3 separate regions of the Homo sapiens genome follow, and regions 1 and 3 are each linked to region 2. The links are contacts of gene promoters, found by promoter capture Hi-C in human tissues and cell types (Jung and others, 2019). All regions are on one chromosome and are shown on one strand. Each heading gives the region's core, a stretch centred on a gene start or on the middle of the fragment in contact. The rest is flanking DNA. Distances are from core to core; before and after follow the strand shown.

The links. Contacts are between HindIII fragments. The study calls those that stand out against the background at their distance.
Region 1: a contact is called between a fragment that was not itself captured here and the fragment with the promoter of LTK in region 2, in 1 of the 25 tissues and cell types used here (lymphoblastoid cells).
Region 3: a contact is called between a fragment that was not itself captured here and the fragment with the promoter of LTK in region 2, in 2 of the 25 tissues and cell types used here (dorsolateral prefrontal cortex and liver).

The regions. Positions count from the first base shown.
Region 1 is chr15:41,755,718-41,759,699 of GRCh38, reverse strand. It overlaps MGA (MAX dimerization protein MGA), which reads right to left. Exons shown (of 24, transcript NM_001400225.1): 19 at 1,861-1,912. Among named protein-coding and RNA genes, the nearest start is that of MAPKBP1, 17 kb to the left of the region's middle. The HindIII fragment of the contact is 4,374 bases long and covers 336-3,982 here.
Region 2 is chr15:41,511,531-41,515,820 of GRCh38, reverse strand. LTK (leukocyte receptor tyrosine kinase) reads left to right here and starts at 1,994. Exons shown (of 20, transcript NM_002344.6): 1 at 1,994-2,154; 2 at 2,701-2,844; 3 at 2,943-3,114; 4 at 3,556-3,706; 5 at 3,858-4,004; 6 at 4,243-4,290. The coding sequence starts at 2,112. RefSeq lists a silencer at 2,629-2,708 and an enhancer at 2,415-3,162. The HindIII fragment of the contact is 13,334 bases long and covers 1-4,290 here.
Region 3 is chr15:41,670,864-41,674,890 of GRCh38, reverse strand. All of the region lies in intron 2 of MGA (MAX dimerization protein MGA), which reads right to left. Among named protein-coding and RNA genes, the nearest start is that of MGA, 12 kb to the right of the region's middle. The HindIII fragment of the contact is 6,232 bases long and covers 1-4,027 here.

The DNA of each region.
Region 1 (3,982 bases), core at 1,273-3,772, 240 kb before region 2:
CCTTCTTGATCCCCAGAAAGGCTTAAAGCCTCCTTTCTCTATCTTATTTATTCTATTACAATCTTTGCATATAGGACTTAAAATATATGAAAAGGCTGGCCAGGCACAGTGGCTCACACCTGTAATTTCCAGCACTTTTGGACGCCAAGGTAGGGGATCACTTGAAGCCAGGAGTTTGAGACTAACACAGGCAACACAGTAAGACTTCATCTTTACAAAAAAAAAAAAAAAAAAATACACACACACACACACACACACACATATTAAGAAGCTTATAATGAAAAGCAACTGTGCCCTGAACTTGTACCTGGATCCTCAGAAACAATCACTTTTTAATTCTTTTAGCAGCTTCTTCTAGTTCTTAAATCTATATCCTAAACCAAAAATAGTAACATAAGCTTATTTTTTTCCATTTTCAATGCTATCTATTGACTTCTTGCTATGCAGAAGAGGATTTAGCTCACATCACTCTTATGTCTTACCATCTTATCATCCCAATATAGTTACATCACTACTTTTAGCTGTTCTACTGATCCCTTAGCAACTTGAATTCTACCTTAATTTCTTATTTCATCAACAATAAACAATCTATCTTGCCTTTCTACTTTGTAAAATGAGGGTATCAGCACCTGTATCCTTCCCTTTATTTCTTCTTCCCTCTCTCACCTCCCAATTTGTCATTTGTATTCTCACATTTTCAAGACTGAAATTAAGTCTTCTATATTTTAATCACAGGTTATAAACGTTAAAAAAGCATCAACATTAACTATTATGACATTATAAACACTACTCATACAAAGTGAATAATATTTCCTGTCCTGTGCAGTTTCTTGGTTTTGTGATTTTTCCCTCTGATGTTTCTAATTGTCTCTTTTTCTGACACTGTTTGCTTAATCGTAACTCTGACCGTAACCAAAAACTCTAATGTAAAAGCCACTGCCTTTCTAAAGTTAAACCCATTATGCATTAACATAGAATGGGAGAATAAAACAGCCAAGAAGACAGAAAGAAAAGCAATATAAACATTAAATATAGCAAAGTGCAGCAAGAATTTGCATGTAATTATTTGGGTACAAAACAATGAATTATGTAAATAAGCTATTATGAAAATTCTTGTTATATCTGAAAAATGCTTCAGAATAAATTTTTAAAAGCCAAATATAATGATATATGCAAATAATTACAACCATGCAAATACGCTGTATCATATAAGTCCCAAATCAGATCAAAACCAAACAAACTGCACTATGATTTTTTAAAGGAACCAAATGCCACCCTCTACTTCAACCCAACCCCCATCATTGTCTTTTTTTAATCTTTTAAATTAAGATAGAAAAACAAGTGGAAAACAATTTAAACAAACCAAACTCTCCTCCATGCCTACTGTTGGTTAGGATAAACAAAAAACCCTGCTTAATTATGTTACTATGATATAAACCAAAAAGATTAAGAAAATTAAAGGTTTATTTTTTCATGGATCCCTAACTGCTAGCCATTTTGCAGAGCATAGTTTTTTAAATCACTTAAAATCATGAGCCCAAGCAAGAAAGAATGGCACCTTGTTTTACATCAGACCATTACAAGAACAGTTTTCAAATAACCACATATATTCTCATAAATTTCATATCCATTTTTAACTCCTCTACATTAGTCTATCCTCTGAGGAGAAGAATTAAAAGGGAAAAAAAGGACATTAGCAGTATAATTTGATTAAGGAGAAAAAACTGATTATATTAACTCACTGGCAAAAATAGCCCTGAGAAAAAATCGTGGCTAATATAGCTAATGTTGTTTCAACCCTAAGATAAATGTTAACAATTTTATTCAATGAGTAATTATCACTAAATATATCCTAAATACCTTTCGACTCCTTTCAGCTGCTTTTTCATCTGCAGAGATGTGAGTACAGGACCTGGATAAAGACAGGATTTTTCAGTGTCTTACTGAAATTTAATAATCTAAGACCTATTTCACAGCTACAACCAAACCATTCCAAATTACAACCAGTTTCTTTTTCCCAAGGTGTGATATATGGCCACATTATTTACTTGACATTATATATTTTCTCTAAAAGTGTACAAATAGTCACTAAAACTTCAAATTACTTTGTACAATCATGAAATATTTAATATACAAAACCATATAAACAAATTTAAAGTTGTCCTTCAGTATCCAGGGAAGACTCGTTCCAAAACTTCCAGCAGTATCTTTGAATACTCAAGTCCCTGATATAAAATGGCATAGTATTTGCATATAACATAGGCACCTCCTCCTGTATACTATAAATCATCCCTACATTACTTATAACACCTAGTACAATGTAAAAACTAAGTAAACAGTTGTTATACTGTATTGTTTAGGGAATAATGACATGAAAATAAAGTCTATACATGTTCAATACAGATGCAATTTTTCTTCTTCCAAGTATTTCCAATCCACAGTTGGGTGAATCCACAAATACATGCTTTCTATATTTGTGGATACATGCTTTTCCATTATAAACTTGGTCTTCCCATCCGTGAAGGAGGACCAAGCGTATAATGAACACCCACATATGAACCATCTAGCTTGAGAAATAATACATCTCAAAAATACAGAAGGTTCTATGTGCAGTCTACTCAATCACATTCCCTTCCTTCCTTCTCAAAAGTAACCATTCTAAGACAGAGTTTACCATGCACACTTTTGTAAGTCTTACTAGAAATATATATATATATATCTAAACAAAAAAAGTACCACTTTAAATATTATATACTATACTATATCTTTCTGCAACTCATTTGTTTCATTCAATATTCCACCTGAAGGCCAGGCACAGTAGCTAATGCCTGTAATCCCAGAACTTTAGGAGGCCAAGGCACGAGGACTGGTTGAGGCCAGGAGTTCAAAATTAGCCTGGCCAACATAGCAAGACTCCGTCTCTACAAAAAATATCGAAAATAAAAGTACAAATAAATTACACCTGAGATATGTTGATACGCAGAGTTCCAATTCCAATTGTTTTAATTGTTATATAGTTATATAGTATTCCACAATGTGAATTTCCCCGAATTTTTTTTTCAGAATGTTAGTAGTTATTTAGGTTGTTTCTAAATCTTCATAATAGCAAACAATGCTGCAATGGACAGTCCCATACACGACCCCTTGTGAAAATTTTTCTGGGGCATAGGAGCAGAGGAAAGATATGCACACCTTCAACTTCAGTAACTGTTAAACTGGTAATAACAATGTACACTCCCACTTGCAGTATGCGAGTTCCCATTGCTCCACACCTAGATAACTGTACCACCAGAAATCTCCACTTTTGAAGTCTTATGGGTGTGAATTGGTAAAGTCACTGTGGTTTTATCTGTATTTCCTTAATTACTTGTGAGGCTGAACAAATGTACATGTGTTTGCTGGGCTTTTAGGTTTCTTCTTCTTCTGTCAACTGTCTCTAATATCCATTACTTTTCTACTGGGTCATCTTTTTCTTACTGACTTGTAACAATTTTTTTATACCCTTGACACTAATCCTTTGTTAGTTAATACGTATGGCAAACACTTTCTTCATATCTGAGTTTGGCTTTTCACTGTTTTCACGGTGTTCTGACAGAATTTTTCAATTCTTTTAACTTGTATTTTTAATTAAATTTAAACAATTAATTTAAACAAATCTAATTAAATCTTTAATTTTTTTTTTTGAGATGGAGTCTCACTGTGTCTCAGGCTGGAGTACAGTGGCACAGTCTCAGCTCACTGCAACCTCCACCTCCCAGGTTCAAGCAATCCTCCTGCCTTAGCCTCCCGAGTAGCTGGGACTACAGGCGTGTGCCAACAAGCCCGGCTAATTTGCATATTTTTAGTAGAGACAGGGTTTCGCCATGTTGGCCCGCCTGGTCTTGAACTCCTGAATTCAGGTGATCCACCCACCTCGGCCTCCCAAAGTGCTGGAATTACAGGCGTGAGCCACCACGCCCAGCCTAAATCTTTAATTTTTTAT
Region 2 (4,290 bases), core at 745-3,244:
CCCAGGGTGGTCTCAGACTCCTAAGCTCAGGCAATCCGCCCACCTCAGCCTCCTAAAGTGCTGGGATTATAAGTGTGAGCCACAGCATGTGGCCCCAATAGGTTTTATTAAGCAACTACTGTATCAGCAAATACCAATGATTCTCAAACTTTGTGACAAAAATCATCTGGAGGATATTTTAAAACAGATCACTGGGTCCTACCACCAGAAGCTGCTGATTCAGTACATCTGGGGTGAAACCCAAGAATCTGCATTTCTAACAAGTTCCCAGGTAATACTGATGCTGATGTTCAGAACAAACCACACAACCACAATTTGAAGAGCAGTGGCTTAAAGAGACTTTGCAAGGTAAATTCTGTGATCTCATAGTGTGATATCTAGTGTTAAGTAGGGCATAGAGACCAGGGTTTTTTTGTTTTTTGTTTTTTTTGAGATGGAGTCTCACTCTGTCACCCAGGCTGGAGTGTAGTGGTGCAATCTCGGCTCACTGCAACCTCTGCCTTCCAGGTTCAAGCAATTCTCTGCCTCAGCCTCCCAAGTAGCTGGGATTACAGGCACCTGCCACCACGCACGGCTAATTTTTGTATTTTTAGTAGAGACGGGGTTTCACCATCTTAGCCAGGCTGGTCTTGAACTCCTGACCTTGTGATCCACCCCACCCCCACCGTCCCCTTGGCCTCCCAAAGTGCTGGGATTACAGGTGTAAGCCACCACGCCTGGCTGAGACCAGACTTTTTACAAAATCACTGTTCTGTTTACACCTTGAATTATACTCAGACTTTACCAAGTAGCTAACTACTATAACTTCTCTTTTGAAGTATTTTGTATTAAACATAGGTCTCAGACTTTCAAGTTAGGATTTTTTTTTTTTTTTTTTTTTTGAGATGGGGCTTTGCTCTTGTTGCCCAGGCTGGAGTGCAATGGTGCGATCTCGTCTCTGCAACCTCTGCCTCCCAGGTTCAAGCCATTCTCCTGCCTCAGCCTCCAGAGTAGCTGGGATTACAGGCGTGCGCTACCACGTGTGTCTGATTTTGTATTTTTAGTAGAGACGGGATTTTGCCATGATGGTCTAGCTAGTCTCGAACTCCTGACCTCAGGTGATCTGCCCGCCTCAGCCTCCCAAAGTGCTAGGATTACAGGCATGAACCACCGCACCCGGCAAATGATCATTTAAGCAAATGATCGAAGACTCAAGACACAAAACTACCTGAAGGGAGTGGCTCCCACATTTGTAGGGTACCTTACAGAGCAATTTCCCTTCATATGATTTTGCAGGTGGTGGGGAAACTCTCAGGGCAGTTGTGGCCTGTGCTACATCACCCATTGACCAGAGGTGCCAGTACTAGTGCTCAAGATCAATCGATCGATCGGTCTACCTACCTATCATCTATTGACCTTCAGTGCTACTAAAAACACTCGGATCTTCTAACGTCTGGTCCAGTCTTTCACCCCATCACAGTGAGAGGCTGTGCACAGGGGTAACACAGGCAACGGAATTATATGAGGCAAACACAGAGATCCAGGTTTCTGGGAGTAGCAATGAGGTTCAGCCTTGCAGTCACAAAGGCACCACTAAAAGGCACAAGTAATGGCAGGTAATGAGGCCTTACTTGGAGCAGTTTAGAGTACTTCCCACGTGTGGTGACGCATGCCACACACTCACCACCACCACCACTGCCACAAATGAAGTGCACACTCCACTGCTCCTGTCCTCAGGAACCTGGAAGCCCCCACCTGGTGTCCGAGGTGTGGCTCCCACTTTAAGCGTGGGGCACCTCCTCTCCGGCCTCAAACCTACCGGAGCTCCCAGCAGGCTGCGGCACATCTGACGGCTGGAAACTAGAACCCCTGGGTGGGGACTCCTTAAGGCTCCTCCCGGAAGCGTAGGGACCTCGCTGCCCACACGCCCCTCCCTTTCCTCCTCTGGCGTCCTGGGGTCTGAGGTGGGCGTGGCCAGACCAGCTTTAGGTCCGGGGAGTGTCTCGCCAGCGGCAGCACACCCCTGTAAGTGGTGGCCAGGGCTGCCGTGGCAAAATGAGCTGTCAACTTTAGGTTGACAGGGGTGTGGCCGCGACCGCAAGGGCTTTTGTTGCCGGGTGGACCCAACAGGGATGGGCTGCTGGGGACAGCTGCTGGTGTGGTTCGGAGCCGCGGGTAAGTGCTATCTGGCGGTCAGGGGACCGTCCAGCCTGAGGCACTTTCCTAGGCTTGGGGGTGGCCGGTCAACAGGCCAGGTGTCAGTGGTTCCTCCAGAGGCCTCGAACTCTCACAGCCAAATTTCTCCGGTCCGTGCTTCTGGAGTGCGGGCCGAGAAGCGCCAAGTGCGTGCGAATCCCAGAGTCTGGATCACGCAGCTTGGGAAGGAGGAACATTCTTTGGGGTCTCAGCACCGCCTTGGGGCGGGGCCACCAATCTAAGTTGAGGAAAGCATTGGGGAGGCTGCAGGACCAAATTCATTGCGGCCCCTAAGTTATTCACTGGGAAAGGCGCTCGAGGAGAGAAACTGGCAGACCTATCAGCGCGCACCCGCGGGGCTTCTGCGACCGGAGTCGGGTAGTGGCTTCCAGGCTGAGAGCGCGGCTGGGCCGGGTGACGGGTGTGGCCGCGACCGCAAGGGCAGCTGTTGCGGGGTTCTCTCTTTCTTTCATATCCTATTTCCACCCGCCTTAACGTCCTGCGCCTTCTCCCAACACCTTTCAGGCGCCATTCTCTGCTCTAGCCCGGGGTCCCAGGAGACTTTTCTGCGGTCCTCGCCCCTGCCGCTGGCAAGTCCCAGCCCCCGGGACCCGAAAGTCAGCGCCCCGCCTAGTATCTTGGAGCCAGCCTCCCCGCTGAATTCTCCGGGTGAGCTTTAGACGCCTCCTTCCTCTTTCGCTCACCATACCAGACCCCTCTGGCCCAGCCAGGGGCTCGACGACCCTTGCCTCGCTCCTTGCTCTCAGGCACCGAGGGGTCTTGGCTGTTTTCTACCTGCGGGGCCAGCGGCCGGCATGGGCCCACACAGACACAATGTGACGGGGCGTACGCGGGGACCAGCGTGGTGGTGACCGTGGGGGCCGCCGGGCAGCTGAGAGGCGTGCAGCTGTGGCGCGTGCCGGGCCCTGGCCAGTATCTGTAAGTGCACGGCGGAGGTAGGGTGGACAGTGACCTGCTAGTTGGAGGTTTCACCCTCAGGGTAACGAAGTCCACGTGCGCACCGACTTGCGTCTTGGACTATTCCGCGGGGAGGTCCACCTTGAGTGCCCTTCAAGGTGGCAGTAGTCGCCACCGAGTTAGCCCTTACCCGGAACCTCTTACACCGAGCGGAAGGCCCCCAACCAGGGCGGCGCCAAGGGGTGCTTGAGCCTCCCCACATTTCCACGAACCCTCCTGAAATAAGTGTAATATCTGATTTTTCGGTGTGCAAACCTACCCTTCCCATCCCGTCAGAGTCGATTGCAGCCTCCAAGTCCCTCAGATAAAAAATAATTCTGGAGCCTCCTCTGTCGCCAACTTCTGCCCGGAGCGGCCGGCCTGAGCACCGAAGGCCGGGGACTCACCGTCCGTTCCCCGCAGGATCTCAGCCTACGGAGCCGCGGGCGGCAAAGGCGCCAAGAACCACCTGTCGCGGGCGCATGGCGTCTTCGTCTCAGCAATCTTCTCCCTCGGTCTCGGGGAGTCGCTGTACATCCTGGTGGGGCAGCAGGGAGAGGACGCCTGTCCCGGAGTGAGCGCAGCCAGTGGGGATGGGGCGGCGCCGGCGCCGGGGGCGAGGGCTGCCTGGGGGCCGGGGGAGCGTGCTTTCCTCGGTGCCGGGTCACCAGCACAGCGAGGGGAGGCTCCCGGGCCCCGCCGATTCCCTCCCCCGCTGCCCGCAGGGTAGCCCGGAGAGCCAGCTCGTCTGCCTCGGGGAGTCTCGAGCCGTTGAAGAGCACGCGGCGATGGATGGGAGCGAAGGGGTCCCGGGGTCGCGGCGCTGGGCGGGAGGTGGCGGGGGTGGCGGGGGCGCCACCTACGTTTTCCGGGTACGTGCTCCCTTCGGCGCTCAGCGTTGGGGTCCCAATCCTCTCCCCAGGGGCGCTCACGCACCGGCTCTCCGTCCGTCCCTTGGGGTCCCCCTATCCCTGCGCTGGGCTGGGCTGGCCTGGGCTGGGCTGGGGGCCCCTGCCCTTATCCAGGCCCCCTGGGCGGGAGCCCTCTCCCAGTGGCAGTGCCCCTGGACAGCTGGAGGGCGCTTCCTGGAACACGCCGCTGGCCCCACAGGTGCGCGCTGGCGAGCTGGAACCGTTGCTGGTGGCGGCCGGAGGCGGC
Region 3 (4,027 bases), core at 946-3,445, 160 kb before region 2:
ATCTAGAGGTCTGGAACTAAGAAGAGAGACAAATAAGCTAGAAACATCAGTGGCTTTAAAAATATTCACTATTGGCCGGGCGCCGTGGCTCACGCCTGTAATCCCAACACTTTGGGAGGCCAAGGCGGGCGGATCAAGAGGTCAAGAGATCGAGACCATCCTGACCAACATGGTGAAACCCCGTCTCTACTAAAAATACAAAAAATAGTTGGCTGTGGTGGCATGCGTCTATAGTCCCAACTACTCAGGAGGCTGAGGCAGGAGAATCACTTGAACCCAGGAGGCGGAGGTTGCAGTGAGCCCAGATCACGCCACTACGTTTCAGCCTGGGTGACACAGCAAGACTCTGTCTAAAAAAAAAAATAAAAATAAAAATAAGAATAATCACTATTAAGCTGGGCATAGTGGCTCATGCCTATAATCCTAACACTTTGGGAGGCTGAGGTGAGCAGGCCACTTGAGGTCAGGAGTTCAAGACCAGCCTGGCCAACATGCTGAAACCCCACCTCTACTGAAAATACAAAAAAATTAGTCGGGCATGGTGGTAGGCACCTGTAATCCCAGCTACCCCAGAGGCTGAGGCAGGAAAATTGCTTGAACCTGGGAGGCAGAAGTGCAGTGAGCCAAGATCGCGCCACTATATTCCAGCTGAGGCAATAGAGCCAGACTCTGTCTAAAAATAAAAATAAAAAATAATAATTGGTCAGATGTAGTGGCTCACCCCTGTAATCCAGCACTTGGGAAGCTGAGGTAGGTGGGTCACCTGAGGTCAAGAGTTCAAAACCAGCCTGGCCAACATGGCAAAAGCCCACCTCTACTAAAACTACAAAAATTAGCCGGGTGTGGTAGCATGTGCCTGTAATCCCAGCTACTCGGGAGGCTGAGGCAGGAGAATTGCTTGAACCCAAGAGGCGGAGGTTTCCGTGAGTCGAGATCGCGCCACTGCGCTTCAGCCTGGGTGACAGAGCAAGACTCCGTCTCAAAACATAACAATAATCAGTATTAGATGGGAGAAGAGGTCAAAGTCATAGATAAGACTACAAGATGGCCAGGGATGGGGTAGCTCACGCCTGTAATTCCAGCACTTTGGGAGGTTGAGGCAGGTGGATCACCTGAGGTCATGAGTTCGAGACCAGTCTGACCAACATGGTGAAACCCCGTCTCTACTAAAAATACAAAACTTAGCCAGGCATGGTGGCACATGCCTGTAATCCCAGCTACTCCAGAGGCTGAGGCAGGAGAATCACTTGAACCCAGGAAGCAGAGGTTGCATTGAACCGAGATCGTACCACTGCACTCCAGCCTGGAAAACAAGAGCAAAACTCCATCTCAAAAAAAAAAAAAAAAAAAGAAAGAAAGAAAAAGACTACAACAGCTGGGCATGGTAGCTCACGCCTGTAATCCTACCACTTTGGGAAGCTGAGGCAGGAGGATCACTTGAGGCCAGGAGTTCAAGACCAGCCTGGCCAACATGGTGAAACGCCATCTCTACTAAAAATACAAAAATTAGCCAGGCATGGTGGCATGCACCTGTAATTCCAGCTAATCCAGAGGCTGAGGCACAAGAATCGCTTGAACCCAGGAGGCAGAGGTTGCAGCAAGCCAAGATCACACCACTGCACTTCAGCCTGGGCAACAGGGCAAGACTCTGTCTCAAAAAAGAAAAAAAAAGAAAGAAAGAAAAACTAAGGACTACGAGAGCATAATACTAGGAAATAACCTTCATGTAATAAATATCTGAATATATTATAATATAAGGAGTCAGTAAGAATAACTGAAAGAAGGGAAAAAATCAAGAGTTAGGAGAACCACGTGAATGGTATGGTAAAAGCCAAGGAAGCAAAAATAAGAGTTTAAAGTAGGAGAAAAATGGTCAAGCAACCGCAAATGTAGCAAATAAAGCCTGAATAAAGATCAGTGTGTTTACCAATAACATTAGCTAAAACAAAGAATGACAGAGCAATCATATATCAGTAACTGAATAGAAAATGGGAAAATAGTGTGTGTGTGTGTGTGTGTGTGTGCACACGCATGTGTATATAATTTTTTAAACCCTTAAATCAGAGGTTGGCAAATTTTTCCTGTAAAGGAACAGATAGTAAATATTTTACGCTTTACAAGCATCTATGGTCTCTGTCACATATTCTTGTATACATACTAAAATAGGCTATAGGCCAGATTTGTCCAACTCCTGCCTAAAAATAATTTCTGCTCCCGTATCAAGCATTTAGAAAAAAAGTTTACATATAGCTAAATACCATTTTCACACACAAAGATAATGCTATTTCTTGGAGCATGATTCAAGTTGCTTTTCTCCCTTTAGTGACAGAGATACTATACGTTAATAAATCTGAACCACTCTCTTGATCCATTAAAATCAAAGGCTTAACCATATGTAATCCCAACAGCTGCTTTCTATAACAAAAAAATAAGCCTGGCTGGGTGTGGCAGCTCATGCCTGTAATCCCAGAACTGTGAAAGGCCAAGGCTGACAGATCGCTTCAGCTCATGAGTTTGAGACCAGCCTGGGCAACATGGCAAAACCTCTTCTCTACTAAAAATACAAAAAATTAGCCAGGGATGGTGGTGCATGCCTGTAGTCCCAGCTATTCAGGAGGCTGAGGTAGGAGAATCACCCAAGTCCAGGAAGTCAGGGCTGCAGTGAGCCGTGAATGCACTACTGCACCCATTCTAAGTGACAGAGCCATACACTATCTCGAAAAACAAACAAACATACGTCTGACCCTTTCACCTAACAAACTCCTTCAGGCCCTATCCTCCAAAGGAATTTCAATAAATTCTGCATCATCCAACGGTACAATAAACTGTTTCTGGATAACAAGGGTAAAAATATAATTTGTGGTCAACTGTTTAAATCTTATTTTAATTATGTTAGATAATCAAGATGATTAAGCTGTGGCTGAAGAATCAAGTTTAAAGATGGCATCCACCAGCTGCAATTACAAACAATACCACAGCAAAAAGTATAACCTGAAAGAACCTTTCCCCTTTGACAAAAAAACTATGCATTGCTTGAGCAGCACTTCCTCCTGCTGCAACAATCCTTAGAAAAAGCAAAGCAATAACCAGCTCATAGACAAGACAAGGGGAACTCATGAGCACGGAGATTCCAAATTCAAAAAATAGTAGCTGTTAGTGGCCTACAATTTTAGCAAGAAAAGGAAAGTAAAGGAAATTTGTGTGCAGGGATTTCTTTACTTTTGCTGAACTTGGGTTTAAAACTCAAAATAAGGCAAGTTCAGGCCGGGCGCGGTGGCTCACATCTGTAATTCCAACACTTTGGGAGGCGGAGGCGGGTGGATCACCTGAGGTCAGGAGTTTGAGACCAGCCTGGCCAACATGGTGAAACCCCATCTCTACTAAAAAATATATAAAAAATTTAGCCGGGCATGGTGGCACACACCTGCAATCCCAGCTACTTGGGAGGCTGAGGCAGGAGAATCGCTTGAACCTGGGAGCCAGAGGTTGCAGTGAGCCGAGATGACACCACTGCACTCCAGCCCGGGCGACAGGGTGAGACTTCGTCTCAAAAAAAATAAACAAACAAAAATAAGGCAAGTTCAAACAAAAAGAAAAAACAGCATCATTCACAATAGTCAAATTCAAGTTTTGCTTTTTGGAACTTTGTGAAATCCTCCCCCCCATCTCATCCCAAATATTTTGGATTTGTGGTTAGTTGAATACACAGCTGCAGCCTCCACGGAATACTGATTGTATAGACAACTCATGATTACAGGCAACTTTCTGTATCTGAGGAGGACTGGTGCCAGGACCCTCCCCAGATACCAAAATCTGAGGATACTCAAGTCCCTTAGTTGGCCAGCTATAACTGTGGATGCAGAACCAGTAGATGTGGTGGGCCTACTATAATTGAAGAAGGGAAGAAAAATAACGCCAAATCATAATGGAAACAAAACTTATCTATATAAGGCACAAAATGGATTCAGAGTCGTTATTTGTATCTAATATTTGTGAATTTACTGCCTGAGGGATATCCTAATCCATA